Regions from separate parts of the Homo sapiens genome. Here regions 1 and 3 are each linked to region 2. Evidence: promoter capture Hi-C in 16 types of primary human blood cells and fetal thymus (Javierre and others, 2016). All regions are on one chromosome and are shown on one strand. Each heading gives the region's core, a stretch centred on a gene start or on the middle of the fragment in contact. The rest is flanking DNA. Distances are from core to core; before and after follow the strand shown. Region 1 overlaps LOC124904635 (a long non-coding RNA gene). Region 2 holds the start of ZNF561 (zinc finger protein 561). Region 3 holds the start of UBL5 (ubiquitin like 5).

Region 1 (2,992 bases), core at 209-2,708, 180 kb before region 2:
TTATAGGGAGATTAAAACTTTTTTTCTTTTTTTGAGAGGAGGCTTGAGGTTGTGGAGACCCAAGTTCTTTTTTTTTTTTTTCTTTTTTCTTTTTTGAGATGGAGTCTCGCTCTTGTTGCCCAGCCTGGAGTGCAATGGCACCATCTCGGCTCACTGCAACCTCCACCTCCCGGGTTCAAGCGATTCTCCTGGCTCAGCCACCAGAATAGCTGGGATTACAGGCGCCCGCCACCATGCCCGGCTAATTTTTTTTTTTTTTTTTTTCGGAGACGCAGTCTCGCTCTGTCGCCCAGGCTGGAGTGCAGTGGCACGACCTCAGCTCACTGTAACCTGCGCCTACCGGGTTCCAGCAATTCTCCTGCCGCAGCCTCCTGAGTAGCTAGGATTACAGGTGTGTGCCACCACGACCGGCTAATTTTTGTATTTCTAGTAGAGACGGGGTTTCGTCATGTTGGCCAGGCGGGAGACCCAAGTTCTTATTTCCAGAGGAAGCCTCCAGGTACTAGACTTCAGAGAGAATAGGTTGTAAAATGTTTATCCGACAGACCTGGGGGCGTGGCTTCCAATGAAGACCAGCCCCAGAAGGCCGGGCTGGGAGACTGCGAAGTCGGAGGGGTTGAGGGGACTTCAGGCAGAGTGGGTGGAGCAAAGGAGAGGGCTCAGGCTTGGGGGCGGGACTTGGGTGGGTCCTCCATTCTGGTTGGCCAAGCCTCTATGTCCCAAATAAAAGTCTCTACCTTCCCGAGAACTTATTACAATAGAACACCAGATTTCCAGAGGTATCTGCCAGTCCACAGAGTGAATCACGTTTCCATTCATCCCGTTTCTTCTATAGGCCCTTGAAGAGAGTTTTAACATTTTCTTCTTAAATCGGTTGTATCTTTCGGTGAGGTTAACTCCTAGAGATTACATATAAATACATTTAGGTTTTTTGCTCTTTTTTCCAACCGATGGTTATTGAGGAGTTCTGAGAGATGAGAAATGTGCTGATTTAAATCACAAATGTAGGCCAGACGCAGTCGCTCACACCTGTAATCCTGGCACTTTGGGAGGTTGAGGCAGGGTCCTTTGAGCCCAGGAGTTCTAGACCAGCCTGGGCAACATGGGGAGACCCTGTCTCTATGAAACATTAAAATTAAAATTAAAAAAAGAAAAATAAATAGCCCGGGCGCGATGGCTCAAGCCTGTAATCCCAGCACTTTGGGAGGCCGAGGCGGGTGGATCACCTGAGGTCAGGAGCTCGAGACCAGCCTGAACAATATTGTGAAACCCGCTTATACTAAAAATACAAAAAATTAGTTGGGCGTGGTGGCGGGCGCCTGTAATCCCAACTACTTGGGAGGCTGAGGCACCAGAATAGCTTGAATCCGGGAGGCGGAGGTTGCAGTGAGCCGAGATGGTGCCATTGCACTCCAGCCTGGGCGACAAGAGCAAAACTCTGTCTCAAACGAAACAAAACAAACCAAAAACCCAATAAAATACAAAAATTAGCTGCGCGTGGTGGTGCACACCTGTAATCCCAGCTACTCGGGAGGCTGAGGCAGGAGAATCGCTTCAACCTGGGAGGCGGAGGTTGCAGTGAGCCGAGATGGCGCCACTGCACTCCAGCCTGGGTGACAGACTGAGACTCCTTCTCTATATAAAAAAAAAAAGAAATAGAAAAAAGAAAAATGAATAGGCCGGGCACGGTGGCTCACGCCTGTAATCCCAGCACTTTGGGAGGCCGAGGCGGACGGATCACTTGATGTCAAGGGTTCGAGACCAGCCTGGCTAACACGGTGAAACCTCGTTTCTACTAAAAATACAAAAAGTTATCCGGGCATAGTGGTGCGTGCTTGTAATCCCAGCTAGTCGGGAGGCTGTGGCAGGAGAATTGCTTGAACTCGGAAGGCGGAGTTTGCAGTGAATCAAGATCACACCACTGCACTCCAGCCTGGGTAACAGAGGGAGACTCCGTCTCTTAAAAAAAAAAAAAGGAAAATAAATAAATAAAGTAGATCACAGATATAAAATAGTGTCCAGATGAAACAATAGATGCCCAACATCCTGGAATGGGACATCAATTAAAATAATAAAAATAGAAAAGAACAAGAGATGCCCAGCAAATAGTTATTTTCACTTTCCCCCTAACGAAGGGTGAAGAGGTCTACAAATGTTCGCTGTTTCTCTTAATTCCTGTGTTTTGAGAATTAAGGATTTATAAGGCAAACCAAGTGATGCGCTGTTGTCTTCTGGAGACCTATGGTATTACATTTCATCTCAAGCAGGTGCTTTTTGAAACTTACCTTTAAACCTTCCTTCCCTATTGGAAAGTTATCACTTGAAAAAGCATTTTCATCATACCTGTAATCCCAGCACTTTGGGAGGCTGAGGTGGACGGATAACCTGAAGTCAGGAGTTCCAGACCAGCCTGGCAAACATGGTCAAACCTCGTCTCTACTAAAAGTACGAAAATTGGCTGGGCACAGTGGCTCACACCTATAATCCTAGCACTTTGGGAGGCTGAGGCAGGTGGATCACCTGAGGTCAGGAGTTCAAGACCAGCCTGGTCAACATGATAAAACCCCATCTTGGCCGGGTGCAGTGACTCACGCCTGTAATCCCAGCACTTTGGGAGGCCAAGGTGCTCGGATCACGAGGTCAGGAGATTGAGACCATCCTGGCTAACACAGTGAAATCCCGTCTGTACTAAAAATACAAAAAAATTACCTGGGCGTGGTGGCGGGCGCCTGTAGTCCCAGCTACTCAGGAAGCTGAGGCAGGAGAGTGGTGTGAACCTGGGAGGCGGAGCTTGCAGTGAGCCGAGATCGCGCCACTGCACTCCAGCCTGGGCGACAAAGTGAAACTCCATCTCAAAAAAAAAAAAAAAAAAAAAAAAAAGAAACCCCATCTCTACTAAAAATACAAAAAATTTGCCAGGTGTGTTGGTGGGCCCCTGTAATCCCAGCTACTTGGGAGGCTGAGGCAGGAGAATCGCCTGAACCCAGGAGGC
Region 2 (2,824 bases), core at 243-2,742:
CCTTATTTGAAGATGTTTTGACCCTTCTCAGCATTCCACAAGTTACTTCCTCCTTCCTTTGTTCTCCTCTACCCTTGCCTCTTTTAAAAAGTTATAAGTTGCTAGCCAGAACGTGAGGTCCCATTCCAGCCAGTGGAAACTGGACACAGCAGTAGGTTGGAAGCATCAGGTTATAAATGACCCTATCTCCTTTGTTTGGTGTACTCTCGTGGCAAAACTGCTGGTGAGTATACCGTTTCTGCAGGAAGTAAAAATGGCCTTGCTGAGTAAATTAAATTTATGTTCAAGTGCTAATTTCTTTATGGCACCAGGGAACAAGCATTTTGAACATGTATATTTATATATTTTTTATATATTTATATATTTATATGTATTTATACATATATGTTTATATATATATATATAGAGAGAGAGAGAGAGAGAGAGACAGGGTCTTGCTACTTTGCCCAGGCTGGTCTCAAACTCTTGGACTTGTAGAAAATGAAATAAATACAGGTTCCTCTTCAAAGGGACTTTCCTCCCAGTCTGATTGAAATAAATAGTAATCCCTCTTAGAAGCCAAATTTTCTCAAAGACCTGTGGTAATATTGTTAAATTCTGCCAGCCGTAATAAAGAAATCAATAGACTCTGTTTTTAGCTCCCACATTTTAGCCTAGATATTTGCCCTGGCATGCCTGAACTGGTCCAAGCAACTATTAGGTCATGGCCTATTCCTTTCCCTATTTAGAAGTGTTTTTGCCTCTCTCAACAGTCCACAAGTTACTTCCTCTCTTCCTTTGTTCTCCTCTGCCATTGCCTCTTTTGGGAAGTTCTAAGTTGCTAGCCAATCCAGTGAAGTACAGGAAGGTGAGGTCCCGTTCCAGCCAATGGAAGCTGGACACAGCAGAAGGATGGACACTTCAAGTTTAAAAAAACCCTGTCTCCTTTGTTAATGTGTGCTCTGGTGGCAAGACTGCCAGCCAGTGGCACCCATTCTGCAGAAAGTAAAACTAGCCTTGCTGAGATCCTTTGTCTCAGTGTTGATTTTGTGACACCAAGCGAGCACCCATTCCCAGCAGACTCAAGCTATTTACCTACCTTAGCCTCCCAAAGTGCAGGAATTACAGGCGTGAGCCACTGCGCTCGCCCGATAAAAGCTTTGGAGGAGCATCCCCCGGGGATGCGTCCCATCCCTCATCCCCGCCCTTCCAGCCCGACCGGCCACCTGAACCACCGGCTAGGCCGGGTCCCTCCTCTAAATCACCCCCCGAGTACGAGCCCCTCCCCTCGCCCACAGTTCCGTCTGGAGGCCCGGTTCTAACCTCACCTTTTTCTCTGGACCTAGTTCTGCATCCCCCTCCCTGAGCCAACCCCAGGCCCTTTCTGCACCCACCCGAGAGGAAACTAGAATTTCTGTGTTCTACCCGGTCCTACGTGGCTGAAACTGGAGCCCACGAGCCTCGCCCGGCCAGAGTGTTGAAGCGGAAGTGACGTCAGCGCACCACCGCCATCTTTTCCGGCGCTGGCTCCTCTCCGTCAGTGCGGTTTCGCCTTTATGGTGGTGGAGTCTGCCCAGGCTGTGGTGAGTTCCACCTCCTTGGCGGTCCCGGGGATAGCAGGGGGCGGCAAAGGAATGATTGCGCGCTGTCGCCTAGGAGCCTCTCAGATCCGCTTCACTTCACTCGCTTCTCCAGGGACTATCAGTCCTCCCTGTGCGTCCAGTTCGGAGAGGCTGCGCGCTCTCTCGGCTCACTGCAACCTCTGCAACCTCTGCCTCCAGGGTCAAGCAGTTCTCCTGCCTCAGCCTTCCGAGTACCTGGGATTACAGGCAAGTGCCACCACGCCCGGCTACTTTTTCTATCTTTAGTAGAGATGGTTTTGCCATGTTGGCCAGGCTGGTCTTGAACTCCTGACCTTAGGTGATCTGTCTGCCTCGGTCCCCCAAAGTGCTGGGATTATAGGTGTGAGCCACTGCACCCGGCCGACTTTTGAAAATTTTAGATTTTGTTCTTAAGTCATCTTAGGTACGTAATGAAGTTATCAATAACACACGTGGCTGGTGACTACTGAATTGTTCTGTGCAGGTCTGCACTGTCTTCTGGTCATATGGCGGGGGGGTAACACCATATACAGGAGATCAGGCTCTAGGGACAAGTATCAGACCGACTACTAGGGTTGTTTGAGTGTAGGTTTTTTTCAGTATTAAATAGAAGTAATGGGCCAGGCATCGTGGCTTATGCTTATTATCCCAGCACTTTGGGAGGCCAAGTCAGGAGGATTGTTTGAGCCCAGGAGTTTGAGACTAGCCTAGGCAATCTGGTGAAAACTTGTCTCTACTAAAACTACAAAAAATTAGCCGGACCCAGTGGTGTGCACCTGTAGTCCCAGCTAGTTGGGGGGCTGAAGTGGGAGAATCACTTAAGGCCAGGAGTTCAAGACCAGCCTGGCCAATATGGCGAAACTGCGTCTCTACTAAAAATGCAAAAATTAGCCAGGCATGGTAGTGCATACCTGAAATCCCAGCTACTCGGGAGGCTGAGGCCTGATAATCGCTTGCACCTGGGAGGCAGAGGTTGCAATGAGTTGAGATCATGCCACTGCATTCCAGCCTGGGCAACAGAGTGAGACTCTGTCTCAAAATAATAATAATAATAATGAGTGATGATACGCACCTATGGTCCCAGCTATTCAGGAGGCTGAAGTGGGAGGATCACTTGAGCCCGGGAAGTCTAGGCTACAGAGAGTTGTGTTAGTGCCATTGGATTTCAACCTGGGCAACAGAGTGAGACCCTGTCTCGATAGATAGATAGATAGATAGATAGGATAGATATAGATAGATAGATA
Region 3 (2,994 bases), core at 442-2,941, 210 kb before region 2:
CAGGAAAATCGCTTAAACCTGGGAGGTAGAGGCTGCAGTGAGCCAAGATTGTACCACTGCACTCCAGCCTGGGCAACAAGAGCAAAACTCCATCTCAAAAAAAAAAAAAAAAGTTTCTGTTCCTTCTAGGCCAGGCACAGTGGCTCACGGCTATAATCCCAGCACTTTGGGAGGCCGAGGCGGGAGGATCACTTGAGGCCAGGAGTTTGAGACTAGCCTGGCATACATGGTGGAACCTCATCTCTACTAAAAATACAAAAACTAGCAGGGAGTGGTGGCACACACCTGTAATCCCAGCTACTTGGGAAGCTGAGGCAGAATTGCTTGAACCCGGGAGGTGGAGGTTGCAGTGGGTCAAGATCGTGCCACTGCACTCCAGCCTGGGCGACAGAGCCAGACTGTCTCAAAAAAATAAATAAATAAAATAAAAATTGTAAAAAGTTTCTGCTCCTTTTGCACAATAGATATGCCTGAGTCTCACCCCACCCTGACCTACTGTCCAGCACTCAGGTGGAGGTCAGTAATAAATATTTTGAACTTGAAGTCAAACTATTTCACCAACCACTCTCCTCCCCAACCAAATAATTACCTAGCTCCCATTTTCTAAGTGCTCACCATGTGCCACGTATTAAGTTAAACACTTAATATGCATAAGCTCATGCAGACTTTAGTTTTGAACAGATAACCGAGGCTGGGTATGTAGATGCTTCCTCAAAAAGTCACACAAAGGATACAGTCCCCCAGAGACACGTGGTCCTTAAAAATCGTGTACCTAAGAAAAAGAGACATTTCAGAGATAAGGCTAAGGAGGCTCTTCAGTCTGTAGGCCAAATGAGGTAGCCAAGCCTAAGCAAAGGGCTGCCTGCAGCGCTCCCCCAACCAAAACCTTCCGGCCTAGTCCAGTCCACCCAGTGGCTCTACCGCTGCACTCACCACTTCTTCAGGACAATCTTGTTCCAACGGGTACCAGTTTGGGCTGCAATCAGCTTCTTAAGGTCCCCGATGGTATCATCCGTGCTGGGCGCAGAGCAGTTAAGGCAAATGGAAGCGGTAGAACGAGGAAGAGGACATTCTAGGGCAGAATACCATCTGCCAGGACCCCATCCGCCCCCTCTCCCGGGTTTAACTAAAACCATCCGACAACACAGATTGAGTTGCCTGCCTCACGCCAAGCACCCCTGCGGGTACCACTGCCTCTCGGCTGCCAGTGGATACTTGCATTTAACGCGGACCTTCTTCCCCAGACGGTCGTTGCAAACAACCTCGATCATCCTAGCTGGAGCTACACAAAGCGGGGGGTGGGTGGGAGGCAGCAAAGTCAGAGCTTCAGGCGTCTCCCAGGCCCAGAAGCCCCAGCCTACAAGTCTCCCAGTCCCAGGCCCTAAAATTCCAGGTTACTGAGCCTTCCGTTCTGCCCCCAACCCCCCGGACTCGAATACTCCCAGGCCCCAAGTCCCCTGTCCCAGGGCCGCGAACCCCGGGGAGCCGCGCCTCCGCCCCTTCTCGCCGCCTGAAAGCCCTGCCACAAAACTCCCTGGCCTCACCTCCCACCGACCCCAGACCCTGGGTGGCTGGGTCGCGACAGCTTTCTCCGACTCCGAGCCTCTCCGCTTGACCCCCTCACCTCGAATCGCCTCGAACCTGCCGACGCCACCAGCTCCTCACCCGAGCGCTGAACCCCGGTCGCAGTTAACGCTAGGAACCGGAAGCGGAAGTTAAAGTTCGAGGCCGGAAGCCCTGCCCCTAGCCAGGGGGTGTGGTCAACACTGGGACAAGTTCTTCCGGGTCTGCAGTCTGTGGTGTGTTTGCTGTTCCCAGGTACGGTTTCGGTGTCCCAAGGCTTGACAGGTGTCGCGCCTGTGGTAGGCGCGCCGGGTAGAGAGGGGGGCCTCGGCGGGTTTGTGGCCAGGGAAGGGGCGTGGAGCGAGAGTCAGAGGTCAGGCGCCGGCGCCCAGCTCGTTTGAAGTCATTGTTTGTTGCAGGGAGACTCGGTCACATGGTGGGGACGCCAGAGGGTCCCGGGAGTAGGGGTAAGCTCCTGATCCTGAGCCCGAAGCCTCTTGCAGCGGCAACTAGGAGCAAGGGCGGAGGGTGGGGGTGGGGGACGAGTTCTGCAGTCATCCCTTCTGACCCCCTGGGTTCATTCAGGGCTGGGCTTGGTGAGCATTTGGCTCACCTCTTCCCTCTGGCCATCGCGTTCCCCCGGGATACGGACTCCAGTCAGTAGGCGAAGCTTGATCCTAGAGTAGACTCTACGCTGCCCAACAGCTGCTGTTACCGCATGGTGCCGGACAGTTCCAGGCTCTTGGTGTCCTGAAGAAAGATTTGGACCAGACACACAGAGATGGCAAAGCTGCAAGTTTATTAAGCACAGTATTCCACTCTCGGAGTGGGGAGAGCGGACTGACCTCTGCGAGATAAGATCAGCCCCAGCTTGGTATAGTTTGGGTCTTTTTTTTTTTTTTTTTCTGAGACGTAGTCTCGCTCTGTTGCACAGGCTGGAGTGCAATGGCGCGGTGCCGGCTCACCGCAACCTCCGCCTTCCGGGTTCAAGCGATTCTCCTGCCTCAGCCTCCCGAGTAAGTAGCTGGGATTACAGGCGCCCGCCACCACGCCCGGCTAATTTTTGTACTTTTAGTAGAGATGGGGTTTCACCTTATTGGCCAGGCTTTTTTTCTCTTCCCAAGGCTGCCTAATATCTAGCCAGTGTCTACCTTTTTGAATGATAGGTGTGTTGCTTACTTTGGCCCCTGTGTGCTTGAGAGCCGCCTCCATTCATGATATGCCGTCCATATGCATGAGCGCTAATGAGCTGGTTATCCTTATCATGTTAAGGATACTTTTTGTCTTTAATGCGCGTGCTTATGCCTAAAGAGCTGCTCCTTACTGGTTTGGTCCTGATTTCCCCGGCCGTGGGATTTTTACTGTTTTTTTTTTAATTTTATTTATTTATTTATTTATTTATTTATGGAGTCTCGCTCTGTCGCCCAGGCT

The links. The method cuts DNA at HindIII sites, captures the fragments that hold promoters and counts their contacts. A CHiCAGO score of 5 or more calls a contact.
Region 1: a contact is called between a fragment that was not itself captured here and the fragment with the promoter of ZNF561 in region 2, in 17 of 17 cell types (non-activated CD4 T cells, naive CD4 T cells, activated CD4 T cells and 14 more). The highest score is 19.3, in non-activated CD4 T cells.
Region 3: the fragment with the promoter of UBL5 here is called in contact with the fragment with the promoter of ZNF561 in region 2 in 15 of 17 cell types (fetal thymus, naive CD4 T cells, total B cells and 12 more); the score reaches 13.1 in fetal thymus.

What each region holds. Positions count from the first base shown.
Region 1 is chr19:9,799,829-9,802,820 of GRCh38, reverse strand. It overlaps LOC124904635 (a long non-coding RNA gene), which reads right to left. Exons shown (of 3, transcript XR_007067134.1): 3 at 405-899. Among named protein-coding and RNA genes, the nearest start is that of FBXL12, 18 kb to the left of the region's middle. The HindIII fragment of the contact is 5,219 bases long and covers 1-2,992 here.
Region 2 is chr19:9,619,900-9,622,723 of GRCh38, reverse strand. ZNF561 (zinc finger protein 561) reads left to right here and starts at 1,492. Exons shown (of 6, transcript NM_152289.3): 1 at 1,492-1,562. ZNF561-AS1 (ZNF561 antisense RNA 1) reads right to left here and starts at 1,242. Exons shown (of 4, transcript NR_122038.1): 1 at 1,079-1,242. RefSeq lists enhancers at 1,163-1,582, 1,731-2,313. The HindIII fragment of the contact is 2,809 bases long and covers 1,140-2,824 here.
Region 3 is chr19:9,826,615-9,829,608 of GRCh38, reverse strand. It overlaps UBL5 (ubiquitin like 5), which reads right to left and starts at 1,691. Exons shown (of 5, transcript NM_001048241.3): 1 at 1,625-1,691; 2 at 1,216-1,282; 3 at 934-1,017; 4 at 735-772. The coding sequence starts at 1,271. RefSeq lists a silencer at 1,575-1,881 and enhancers at 1,925-1,974, 1,385-2,109. The HindIII fragment of the contact is 5,434 bases long and covers 1-2,235 here.